Regions from separate parts of the Homo sapiens genome. Here all the other regions are linked to region 4. Evidence: promoter capture Hi-C in 16 types of primary human blood cells and fetal thymus (Javierre and others, 2016). All regions are on one chromosome and are shown on one strand. The core of a region is centred on a gene start or on the middle of the fragment in contact, and the rest is flanking DNA. Distances in the headings are between cores, read along the strand shown. Region 1 holds the start of ETV7 (ETS variant transcription factor 7). Region 2 holds the start of PXT1 (peroxisomal testis enriched protein 1). Region 3 holds the start of STK38 (serine/threonine kinase 38). Region 4 holds the start of CPNE5 (copine 5).

Region 1 (3,063 bases), core at 156-2,655, 450 kb after region 4:
AGACCCCGCTGTGGGGTTGCACCACTTTACCTCAGCTTTTCCAGCAGATTATGTTAGTAAACTTTTAAATTTTTGCCAAATTTATGGGTAAAAATTTCTATCTCAGAATAACTTTAATTTGCACATTTAAAATAGTGAGTTTGTCTGAGCATCTTTTTCTTTCTCTGCTGCCCAGGCTGGAGTGCAGTGGCACAGTCACGGCTCACTGCAGCCTCCAACTCTCAGGCTCAAGCGATCTTCCATCCTCAGCCTCCTGAATAGCTGGGGCTACAGGTGTAGCCCCACCATGCCCGGCTAATTTTTTAAATTTTCAGTAAAGACAGGATCTCACCATGTTGTTCAGACTGGTGTCCAACTCCTGGGCTCAAGCGATCCTCCCACCTTGGCATCCCAAAGTGCTGGGATTACAGGCATGAGCCACTGCACCCTGGGCATCTTTTTGTATATTCAGGAGCCATTTGGCATTTCCTTTTATGTGGACTGTTTATTCATATCCTTTGCTCATTTTTTTTTCCTACTGGGTTTCTGGCCTTGTTCTTACTGGTTTCTTATTGCTGGCCTAGAGCTTGTGATGATATACCAGTGCTAAGCCTACTTTGTAACAGCGTCTACACCCTCAGATTTTCAGCAGAAGGTTGTTAATGCTTTTCTTTCCTTTTCTTCGGTGTCTTCTGGTTTGTTTTTATGCGCACAACCTCTCTTGAGACAGGGGGAGCTGAGACAGATGGAAAGGGTGATGGGTGGGCAGGCACCAACCCCGGAGCACCCAGAGGCCCAGGAAAAGGTGTCAGTCGGGATCTCCGAGTAGTCTGGCCCTGCTCAGGAGAGCACAGCCGCTCTGATGGTGGTGCGACGGTTCCGGACCTGTGGGGCCTCAGCGGGGCCAAACGGCAGGCCGAGACAGTATCGGGGCCGGGAAGGTCACTCACCCCTAAAGGGAGAGGCACCATGCGAGGCCCCTTCCTATCCTATGTGCGGAGACTCACAGGGTCCTTCCTGGTCCTGGGCTCGGGACCGTGAGAGACGCAGTTGGTTCCGAGTTCAGGACTAGGGGTCCCCTTAGATCCTCAGATCCTGCAGAATCCCGGCTCTGCCCCAGTGGGAGCCAAGGCCAGGTCGCCAGAGGGACTGTCCGCCGGCTGGAGGCTGTGTGCAGGACCCACGCCTCCCAGGCTAGCGAGCGGGCAGCGCCCCGGTGCTGCGCTCCCACGGGGCCGGCCCCTGCCCTGCCCTGCCCTGCTCCTAGCCCGCAGCGGCGCAAGTGGAACCGCATCCCGCTCTTTCGTTTTCGTTTCCCGGAAGGATAGCGATTACCGGAGCGCCTCGCGCGCCTGCCCGCCTGCGGAGGACCCGGGCGCACACGCCTTGGCGCTTCTCGAAAGAGATTTCCTCCCACGCGACCTTCCAGTTCTCGGAGCCAGGTTAGGGGTTTGGCGGAGGAGGACTGCGGGGCGCGGGCCTAGGGCCCCAGCAGCCACAGCCAGGGGAGCGCTCAAGACAGAAAGCCGGTGGCTTCCTCACCTCCACCTGTAATGCAGGTAAGAGCCTGGCGGCTGAACACGCAGCGCGCACGCAGAGCCACCTGCTCCCGCATCCTTTCCTCACCACCTAGATTTCCAAACCTATTTTATCAGACCTTTTACCTGGCGGGAATCTCTCTTTCCAACACATTCCTAAACCTCACATCCATCCCTCACTCACTTCCCCTTCCACCTCCAGACGCGGGTCACCGCCCCTGACTCTCTCGGTGTCATACACAGCTCTGAAGGCATCACGCACAGCCCCTGCGGGCCCTTTCCGCAGCCCCCTTACCACTGGTCGCCCCTACACCAACCAGATGTGAGGTCTTTGGAAGTTCGTGCGCCAGCCAGGTCCTCACAGCTGGTGAACGCATTCTCGCAGGGAGCCCCTCTTTAGCAGCCTCTCCCCACTCGCCGGTTTTCTAGGTGCCTCGAGACTGCCCCCAGAGCTGGCGCCCCGTCCCACTCCAAGGCCTTTCTCCACTCCCCTCTCGCCAGGACCCATACCCATTATCAGACCCTTCCCTGGCCTCCATGCTGAAACCCAGGAGTCTGATCCTCAGCAGCTCCGTGGCTGGCGTTTCCCAGGCAGTTACAGCCTCGGAATTCCCCGCTCCTCTTACTTGGATGAGGACAGAGGAGTAGACAAAGAGCCTCCTGCAAGCCTCCTTGGCAAGTCCGAGGCAAGTCCTGTGCCTTGAGCCCCTTCTCCAGCAAGGCAAGCTTCCCTTTCCCCACCAGGAGGCAACCCCTGAGGTCTGATTACTTGGGAAACAGCACCAAAGGGGGACCGGCTGGAAATGAAGTGAGAACGACCCGGAAAGGTGTTGAATCCCCTTTCGCAGCAGCCAAGGCTTCTGGAGTTTGCTTTGCTGGCTCCGATCCAAATTCTCTCTCGGCAGATATCTCTCCTCGGATCCCAAGAGATGAATGTAAAGCTTTTGACAATCCTAGAGTGAAAAATGACTTGATGGAGCTGGTTTCACTTTTCCTTTCCGTGCTGTGGCAGCCTGTGGCTGGGCATGAGCCCGAAGGAGCTTCCTATTCCTACAAAATCCTGCCACTTTCTTCATTTTCTCATCTGAATGGATGAACCCCGTCATCTCTGGGGGCCATGCTGATTGTTGAATTGTAAAGATACAGGCTTCCCGTGGTGAGACCTTAGGATTCAGAAATGTATCCTTATCCTTTCTTTTTCTCTTTTGAAAATAGTGTTTGTTTGTTCTGAGACGGAGTCTTGCTCTCTTGCCCAGGCTGGAGTGCAGTGGCGTGATCTTGGCTCACTCCAACTTCCGCTTCCCGGGTTCAAGTGATTCTCCTGCCTCAGCCTCCTGAGTAGCTGGGATTACAGGCGCCGGTCACCACGCACGGCTAATTTTTGTATTTTTCGTAGAGATAATGTTTCACTATGTTGGTCAGGCTGGTCTCAAACTCCTGACCTCAAGTAATCCACCCGCCCCAGACTCCCAAAGTGTTGAGATTATAGGTGTGAGCCACCGCACCTGGTCTATTTGTTTATTTCTGATTTAAGGTCTTTTGATCC
Region 2 (2,941 bases), core at 313-2,812, 400 kb after region 4:
TCATTTCCTACCCCGTGTCAGGGTCAAAAAAAGCACTATCTTTTCTCATATTGGCTTCTGGAGAGTCAGGGCTTCTTGTCCTACGACTGGTTTAGGGCAGGGGAGGAAAACATCGACAAAGGGTTAAGGCTGTTGGGCAGTTTTTAAAATTCCCAGCCCAGCCTAAAGGTGGTGTCTGTCAACGTGTGGTCGGTCCCTGGATCATCAGTAACAGACCAAGAGTGCAGGTGCTTGCTTAAATCCCAGACTCAGGGACCCATCACAAATCTCTAGAATCAAATTTATGGAAGAGGTGCTAGGGTACTGCAACCTTATTACTAAGGAACAATCTTCTGTTTCAGAACTATGGCCTAGGAATTGGGGTTTCAGGTGGGGGCCTTGAGCGGAAGTCCTCTGACTCTGGATTCATCACATCCGACAGACACTACTACAACACTTTGTTTTGAAGACCATTAAAAAACTACCTCAACTTCTCGCACAGCGAACAGGAACAAAACTAAGGACTCTGGGACATATTTTCATAAGCTGGTTAAACAGTTCCTTCACAGCCTTGTTTATCATGTTAGTTTGTTCACTAGATTCTTATTTAAAAATAAATCTCTTCAACTGAGGAATTTTCAGAAAGAATCACAAACTCCAAAATAGAAGAGTTTTCTCATAGTGCAGAACTGGGCTTCTAAACCTGAAGACACTGCTATAAAAAGCAAAGTTTTATTTAAAAGAAAATTGCTGGTTAAGGCTTTCCCCAGCTCTTTTGCACTCAGAGCCACGGATGAAAGCTGGCAATTTGCGGGTGGCAGGGAAGGAAGACGCGGAAACAGGGCTGAAAAGACCGAGCAAAATGCGCTCGGCTCCAGAGTTCAGGAGGAAGTCCCCACCAACTACCTAATTTTTAATGGAGCCAATTAATTGCCAGAAAAACCGCGTCTGCAAATGTTTTGCCAGTCAACACTCCAGGTTCTCGCCATTCCTCTCCGGCGGGATGAACCACCCGAGGCCTGCAAAAAGCAGTCAAGCAGTCAAGTTACACTTCAGCTGTGCCCACCACCTGGGCGCAGCGTCGCCTCCCTCCCCAGGATCACCAGACTCTGCCCTCCGCGCGGAAACAGGAGCCCATCAAGCCGCTGCCCACAGGTTCCTCGCGCCCAGCTCAGCCCCGCGGCCTTTCGACTCGGGGGTCCGAACCGCCGCCGCGTCCGGAGGAGACGCCCCCTCGGCCACAAAGGGAAGACTCGGGCCACGCCCGCCGCCACACTCTCCCTGCCCGGTCTTCGCGCCCGAAACCGTACCGCGCCGCCACTTACTCGTCGCTCCCCGCCGCGCTGTCCCGCTCGGGGCTGGAATCCGCCCGGGAGGCGCGCGCAGGCCGCGCAGCCAGAAGCCGCAGCCGGGACCGGCTGTGCCGCAGCGGCGCGCGCCCCCCGCCCCGGACCGCGCGGCCACGCGGCTGAGTCACCCAGCGCTTCACGTTAAGAGTCCCCTCCGCGCGTGGCACGCCGGGAAGGCCGTGTCTGGGGACCCCGTCCGGGGCCGCACCGTAAATGGGTGTCGCCTTTCCTCCAGTCCACTCTGCACCCAACCTCAGCGGGCGCACTTTTCTGAGTTGCGCATACCCTCTCAATTATTAAAGGTTGCAGACGGAAAAGTTAGTAGTTTTCGGAATTGTAGAATACGCTCGTGCAGCGCCAGGACGGCTAATGCTTACCCGAAAATGTGGAACCCTGATCTCCCCATGCGTGGAGCGAGGTTGGAGGTAGCGTAGTAAGAATACTGGAGTTGCTTAAACGCATTTGCTCGAAAGTCACTACCCTGGATATACATTCTGGCCAAAAGAAAGGGGGAAAAACTCCACATTTTTCTCAAATACTGAGTTTCATGAAGGTACCTGCTATTACAAAGGTGTATTACAAATTTTAAATCAACCGGAAGCAAGTTACTGGGAAAACTGTGTTATGAGTAAAAGATTTCAGCATTCAAAAAACATCTATATATGGTCCATGTCCTATGAACCAAATGCTGGAAAACCCAAAAGGAAGTTCTTATTGTCACGGTTTCTAGTGGCTTTTGTACTTTTAAAAATTACACTAGGCCGGGCTTGGTGGCTCACGCCTGTAATCCTTGCACTTTGGGAGGCCGAGGCGGGCAGATCACCTGAGGTTGGGCATTCCAGACCAGCCTGGCCAACATGATGAAACCCTGTCTCTGCTAAAAATACAAAAATTAGCCGGGCGTGGTGGTGGGCGCCTATAACCCTAGCTGTTTGGGAGGCTGAGGCAGGAGAATCACTTGAACCCAGGAGGCAACTGGGAGGTTGCAGTGAAGTTCCCTCTCAAATATATATATATATGTCTATATATACTAATTAAATATACTGATTATGCAAACTATTTGTAAATTGTTGAAAGCTCTATAAACTAATAATAGCACAAATTTTAAAATTCGAAGTCGATTCTCCTTTTCCTTACAAGAGACTCTCTGAAAACTAATTTGGAATTGGATTAGAATTGGTGTTGAAGTGGAAGGAATGTAAGAAAATAGTTTGACTCAGTAGGTTTCACACGGTTAACGGATACTTGTATAGCAAATTTGTTTTATCAGGGTCAAAAAATTTAATTTTCAAAACTGAAGACATAAATTTTTTCATTATAATTTGGTCTTAGAGGCCTAGAGGGTCATTTTCCATTTCTATTCTCCCTCGTTTATGACTATAAAGTATGCAGGACTGTATTGTGTTTATCTCAACATGGACTAGGCTGTGAGGCTGCACTCGTCATCTGTAAGTCAGTCTCACGTCCCCATGGTGACTCAGCTTCCCTGCTGCTTGCGTCAGTGGCTCTGCCCTCCCAGCACTTCCGGGCTGGCAGAAGAGCTAGATTGGAGAATCCTGTAAGGGCTCTCCTTTGCCTCTGCCAGAAGTGAGTGGCCTTTTCACTTCTGCTGA
Region 3 (3,082 bases), core at 286-2,785, 290 kb after region 4:
GAAAGAGAAGAGGAGAAAGAACATTGGATTTGCAGACAGAAAATGGGGTTCCCCTCTTGGCTACTTGGCTTACTAGCCGTGGGAATTCAGACAAGTCACTTAGCTTCTCTAAGTATCAATTACTTCATCTGCAAAACCTCGTGTGTCACTGCCAAAGTGAGGACCAAGTGAGATTAAATAAGTGAAAGTTGTTTGTAAACTGTAAAGCATTATGCAGACATCTTGGACTATTATTAAAAGCTTAAGAATGGGTAGGACTTTGACAACAGGCATTTGGGGAGAAGGGCCTCTGGGCAGAGAGAATGAAAGGCGAAGTGATTGATTGATATGTATGTAGTGACTGATTGAGACAGGGTCTCCCTCCGTTGCCCAGGCTGGGGTGCAGTGTCATGATCATGGCTCATAGCAGCCCTGAACTCCTGGACTCAATCAATCCTCCTGCTTCAGCCTCCACAGTAGGTGGGACCACAGGCACTTGCCACCATGCTGGCCAATTACAAAAATTTTTTTAGAGGTGGATTCTCCTTATGTTGCCCAGACTGGTCTCAAACTCCTAGGCTCAAGCTATCCTCCCACCTGGACCTCCCAAAGTGCTGGAATTACAGGCAGGAGCCACCGCGCCTGGCGAGAAGTGATTTTTGTTAAGAGGCTAGACAAAAGGAAACTGGGCTTTGAAGATGAAATGAATGAATAACTCGCAGCACATGCTTCCTTCTCTCCCTAGATGGCCCCTTTGCAGGCAGTCAGGGACCATGTCTCGTTCATCTTAGTTTCCAGGAGCTTGACACTTTGTAGTTGAGGGCTTTGTGCTCCATTCTCAAGAAACGACAAGTGCCCAAAGGCTATTAAACTTGGGACCTCTTTACCCCCAAAAGTAGTACAGAATAAGAGTTGGGTGGCCTTGAAAAGCACCTTCTTCTGTCCACACTGGGTCGCCCGCTGGGTAACCTCCCAAACCTATGAGAGCTCACCTTATCCCAGGTAAGGTCCTTACTTTAAGGAAGAGGAGGGGGGCCAAGGGCTCCAGCAGACCTGTTCTACACGGGGTAGGGGGGTGGGTGGGAACTATACAGGTGACAACATTTCATAGAACTACACACACACTCACACACACGCACATGACTGCATACCCAACAGGTTAAATCCGAGTGTGGTCTGTAATGAAGTTAATTGTATTGGTTTAGTTAATTGTATTGGTTTAGTTAATTGTATTGTGCGAATGTCAATTTCCTGGCTTTGAGAATGTTGTATCTTAAGAAAAATGTTGAGGTAAGCTGGGTGGGTGATGGTATAGGGAACCTGTATGTATTAATTTTGCAACTTCTTGTGAGTCCATAATTATTTCGAAGTAAAAAGTAAAACAAAAGAAAACAATGGAACTTCCCCCTCAGCCCAGCCTACTTCGAGACCGCCTCACACTCACACATCTGGCCTCACCCAGGTCCAGCCAGCCCTAGGCAGGGGGTGAAGGGAGGGGCAGGGCGGGGCCACGCAAGCGCAGTTCCGCAATCCCGGCCGCTCCGGGAAGTCGCGCATGCGTAGTCTCGGCCCCGGGCTGCCGCGCCAGCCCGTCTCCGCGGCGGGGGACCGGGCTGCCTTGGCCCCTCAGCGCTCGCGTCTTTTCCGGCAGTTGGAACGCTTCCTGTTGTCCTCACCCGTAACCGCCTGTTGCCCCCTGTCTCAGAGTCCCTCACGCGTCCCCTCCCGTCTTTGGCTCGTTGGCTGCCGCCGCCGGGGCTTCGCCAGCCTTCAAGTCGAGACTACTGGCCGAAGGGGCGTCTGCGGCTCTCCGCCGTCCCCAGCCCTGCCTCTCCCTGGGCTCTGGTGAGTTGCTTGCTGCCGCCGTCTTCACTCCATCCCGGGGTTTTTCCTTTATCTCCTCCTTCCCCAACCTCCGACTCCTTCTTGGGCTTTCTCCTGCTCGCCGGCGCCCTCTTTCAAGCCCTAACCTCTCAGCCTCTTGGCCTCTCTCCGCCCCTCTCCTTAACCCCCTTCTTCCCCCGTCTCCAGATGCCCCTTGTTGGCCCTCTCCACATTTTTCCAGTCCCAGCCTTTCCACCCCATCCTTTATCTTTCTCCTTTTGCAGTTGGAGCGGGAGCCAGGCTTTCCTTTCCATGTTGCCACCTTTGTCTGCTCCCTGCCACCAGTCAGTCCCTCAGGGATCTCGGTCATCACCGGTTTTTATCTCCTTTTCCTTCTTCTGGGGTCTGTGAACTGTGGTCTGAGGCAGAGATGTCGAAAGCCCCCCTTGGGGTGTGGTATCTTTGAGTCGGCTCCTTTCTCCGTTAGTCTTAGGATACTGGGCTTCAGATAAGCTTCAAATCACAGGAAAAGGCAGGGAAAATTCTTAAGAAGAGAGTGGAAAAGCAACAGCCAGAGGAAAAAGTCGGTAAGGGCTTAGAGGAAAGTCTGTGTCAGAAAGCGGGCAGAACGGCCGGCAGAGAGACCAGATCTCTCAGTTCATTCTGAAACGACTAAAAGACTCGGAGAGAAACTTGTTCTGTTTGAAATGCACCGAGGAGGGTTGGAGTGAAGTAGACCCTGAGTGTCTCCACCCTTTGAGCTCACCCTGCCTCTGAATTAGCCAGGCAATATATTTGGTTTCCCTAAACATAAAACAACCACCACCTCGATAACAGGCTCTCCTCCCCACCCTAAACGTTAGATACCAGCTTCCTCCTAAGAGGAGAGAACGCTATAGCAAACCATTTCATGTCCCAGCCCTATCCCCCATCACACATAAACTCCTAGGAATGGACATCAAAAATGAGTATATTTCCTAGTTAATCTTTCTTAAGGTGCTAAGTGCATAGCACTGTGCATGAAATGGGGGAAGAATATTAAAACAAGTATAAGACATGGTGCTTGCTTTCTAGTGTAGGTAGAGATTACAGTTTAGTAGGATTTACAGTTCAGTGGGAGAGATTAGACATGCGACTTAAGCAATAATCTTAGCTCCAATGTTGAATCGTCCAAATGAAAGATAATGGATTGTCAGTCGCAAAGAAATAAAGTCCATATTGTTGAGAGAGGGTTGTTTATAGTGATCACAGAGTACCATTGTAAAGTCAGTCAGTTAGC
Region 4 (3,028 bases), core at 509-3,008:
GTAACAGGCAGAGGAATGTGTTCTTGTATTTATCTTTGACTGACAGTATCTGATGTTCCAGGAATTGACTTCAAACAGAATCCGGAGGAGCCCCTTATGGTCCCGCTGCCACAAACAAGGCCCAGAGAGCGCAACTCTGCCCAGCCCAGCACCAGGTTTTTGGCCTCCCCGCCGGCCCGAGGCACATCGGCTTCGATGTGCCAGGCGGTGGGCGAGGAAGTGGAGGTTCCAGCTCGGCAAAGCTTAGGCTGAGGCTGAGGATGGGCTAGAGTCAAGTCTACGTGTGCAGCCTTACTCAGGGAGACGCCTCTGCGCTGCAACCTCATGCCCGGGAGGGCAAGGCTGGGCTAGGGCGGGGGATCGCGAGGGGCTTGGCTGGGAAGAGGACTGCAGGAGAGGTGTCCCAACTCTCCCCTCGCTCGCCAGGCACACAGCACGCGCCTACTCGGTGCTGGCTGCATAGAAGCCCAGGGAGCTCGGGCCGATCTCCCAGTCTGGTTGCCACCAGACTGGGTGGCAGGAGCTTCTAGACCTGGAGGCTGGCTCAGTCGTGTGGTCACGACGGGCGGGGGAGTGGAAGGGCGCTGGCGCGTGGTTTCGGCAGCCGACTTGGCGAGGCCGCGGCTGGCGGGAACCACGGATGGGGGAGGCGCCCATGCACCGACCCCACCTGGGCCACTGGGAAACCGAGGTAGTCCCTCCTGGCACTGGGGTCGCCCCCACACACCTCCCCAGAAGGAGATGTAGGGTCTGTTTCTGAACTGAGACCCGCCCCCGAGTAGGGCGCACACTCAGCAGAGACCCTCCACACCCAAGCCCCTGGGAGGGGATCTTTTTTGCACACCTCCCTCCCACTTATGCCCCCTCTCAACCCTGCATAGACCTTTCTCAAAAAGGCGCCCGTTGGTTCCCATAACCCTCCCCCTCCCCCAGGATGGAGACCCCTGATGGGAGATAGGGGTGGTGAGAGGGGGCGGGCGCAAATGAAGATGCGCGCGACCAGGACCACCTCTTGCTGTCACCCGCCACGTCCCCAGCATCTGGACCGCGTCCCCCGGCCCGCCACGCGCGCACACACACACACACGCGCACACACACACGCTCACACTCACCCTGCGCGCAGACCCCGCCCGCGGCCCCGCCCCGGCCCCTGCGGGCGCCCCCTCTGGCGTTCCCGGGCGGCGGGAGGCTGCGGCTTCGGGCAGATTTGATTTTCCCGCAGCCCGGGCGCCCCGGAGCCGAAGCCCGAGCCGAGGAGGTGGCGCTCGCAGCCGCGTCTCAGCCCCGTCGCCGCCGGCGCCAAGACCCAGGGAGAGGCGGCGCAGCCCGGGCGCTCGGGCTCCGCGCTGCCGGCGCCCCGCCACCCCCGCCGCCAGCGCCCCATCCGGCGCCTCCCGCTCCTCACGCCCCTCTCCCTGTCTTCTGCATCCCCTCTACCTCTGCCCACAGACGCGCGTCCCTCTCCTGGTGCCCCTCTCCACGACTCCGCGTTTCCCTCCCGGTGCCCTCTCCCCGAGCCCCTCTCCCCGCGCCCCTCTCTGCCTTCCCCGCTGTGCCCCCGCTCCCTGGGCTCCTTGCCCTTCCCCACTGGGCCCCTAGCCTCCTCGCGGCGTCACCCGAGCCCCCTCCTCGATCCGCGGCCCCCGCTCCCTCCGCCCTCTTCCCTCTCTCACTTCCCACGCCCCCTCTTCGCGCTCCTCTCTCCTCCCCTTGCCGCCCAGCCCAGGCTCTGGAGTTGGGGGAGAGCCCAGGGCTCCAGTCGCTCCGGAGGAGGCGTGAATCGCGCAGGGATTGACTAATTTGGGGTGGGGGGTGCGGTGGGCGATGGAGCAGCCTGAGGACATGGCGTCGCTGAGCGAGTTCGACTCCTTGGCGGGCAGCATCCCGGCCACCAAGGTGGAGATCACCGTGTCCTGCAGGTGAGCCTCCCGCTGGCCGGGTCCCCTTGCCCCGGCCCTGGACGCAGAGCCCCGCGGCCCCTGCCGCTTCGATCCTAAACCTCCGCGCGCCCCCTTCCCAGAGTGTCCTGGTCTCCAGGACTGCGCCCCTGCCGATCTGCCAAGAGCCCCTGTCCTGTCCAGCTGCGGGTGGCGACGGCAGAATAGGAAGCCAGGCTGGGGTCATATCCCAGAAAGTTTGCGCTCCAGGCTGTTGCATCGAGGAGATATGAAGACACAGGAACAGGGGGTCCAGGCACCCAAGTGGGGAGAGGGAGTTGGTAAAAGGCTGTACTACGGTCTCTGCTCAGGCTATCTCTGATCACCCCATCCCCAAATCACGAAGTGAGTGATTTGCCCCCATCCCTCCCAGGCTCGTCCACCCTCTCCCTTCTGTGCCCTCCTCTCTTCTCTCTTTGCCCCTTCTTTGCCCCAGCATCCTGATCCTCCCCTCACCAGTCTCCCCCACCCCACTGTCCTAGACTCTAGGATTTTAAAGCCTTCCTTCATCTCTATCAACAACGAAATCGACTCCTGGAAAAGGATCAGATTGACTCATTCATACTAAGGTGTGGATACATGATAACAACTTAAAGTGGCACCATTAAAAAAATAACTTGGGTCAAAAATCTTAAGCCAAAGGAATAGAACACTGATTGTGAAACTGTAGAGTCCAACAGAGGAGGAGGGGGAATATTTTTGTGGGCTACCACGCCCAAATCTTCACTCATGTCACACAGGGTTTGGGGGTAACTTCTCTGTCTAAGAGCTGGGTCGACCCCAGGTTCTCCTAGCTAGGGGAAGGCTGCCCCTGGCAGTAAGAGGGTATGGGTGGCAAAGGGGGATTTTTCCCTAGTTCAGTCTCTCTGTGGCTGGCCTAGGATCATGTGCTGCCACGCAAGCATCACCCACTTTGAGGTTCCCCCACAGAGGCCATGCCCCCTGCCCCAGATCACCGACAGCATTTCTGGAGCCCTGGCTGTGCCCTTGTTCGAAATCACCCATCTCATCCTCTTCCAGGTTGCTCCTTGGTCAGACCCTCCATGAGAGGTAACCTTGTTGCCCCCCAGTCCTGTATTACAAAGTTGTGG

What was found. Contacts are between HindIII fragments. The CHiCAGO score rates a contact against its expected background, and 5 or more counts as called.
Region 1: a contact is called between the fragment with the promoter of ETV7 here and the fragment with the promoter of CPNE5 in region 4, in 5 of 17 cell types (erythroblasts, total B cells, naive B cells and 2 more). The highest score is 7.0, in erythroblasts.
Region 2: the fragment with the promoter of PXT1 here is called in contact with the fragment with the promoter of CPNE5 in region 4 in 4 of 17 cell types (total B cells, monocytes, neutrophils and 1 more); the score reaches 8.9 in total B cells.
Region 3: a contact is called between the fragment with the promoter of STK38 here and the fragment with the promoter of CPNE5 in region 4, in 2 of 17 cell types (naive B cells and total B cells). The highest score is 6.2, in naive B cells.

Annotation. Positions count from the first base shown.
Region 1 is chr6:36,386,011-36,389,073 of GRCh38, reverse strand. ETV7 (ETS variant transcription factor 7) reads left to right here and starts at 1,405. Exons shown (of 8, transcript NM_016135.4): 1 at 1,405-1,538. The coding sequence starts at 1,533. It overlaps ETV7-AS1 (ETV7 and PTX1 antisense RNA 1), which reads right to left and starts at 2,454. Exons shown (of 2, transcript XR_926758.3): 1 at 2,144-2,454. RefSeq lists a silencer at 1,175-1,384 and an enhancer at 1,511-2,334. The HindIII fragment of the contact is 3,834 bases long and covers 1-2,245 here.
Region 2 is chr6:36,441,475-36,444,415 of GRCh38, reverse strand. It overlaps PXT1 (peroxisomal testis enriched protein 1), which reads left to right and starts at 1,562. Exons shown (of 5, transcript NM_152990.4): 1 at 1,562-1,881. It overlaps KCTD20 (potassium channel tetramerization domain containing 20), which reads right to left and starts at 1,416. Exons shown (of 8, transcript NM_173562.5): 1 at 1,305-1,416. RefSeq lists enhancers at 299-358, 964-1,063, 2,548-2,941 and silencers at 1,224-1,513, 2,672-2,741. The HindIII fragment of the contact is 5,749 bases long and covers 1-2,941 here.
Region 3 is chr6:36,545,932-36,549,013 of GRCh38, reverse strand. It overlaps STK38 (serine/threonine kinase 38), which reads left to right and starts at 1,535. Exons shown (of 14, transcript NM_007271.4): 1 at 1,535-1,824. RefSeq lists a silencer at 1,390-1,729 and an enhancer at 1,477-2,000. The HindIII fragment of the contact is 2,076 bases long and covers 243-2,318 here.
Region 4 is chr6:36,838,174-36,841,201 of GRCh38, reverse strand. CPNE5 (copine 5) reads left to right here and starts at 1,758. Exons shown (of 21, transcript NM_020939.2): 1 at 1,758-1,919. The coding sequence starts at 1,825. RefSeq lists an enhancer at 1-400 and a silencer at 1,085-1,294. The HindIII fragment of the contact is 11,867 bases long and covers 245-3,028 here.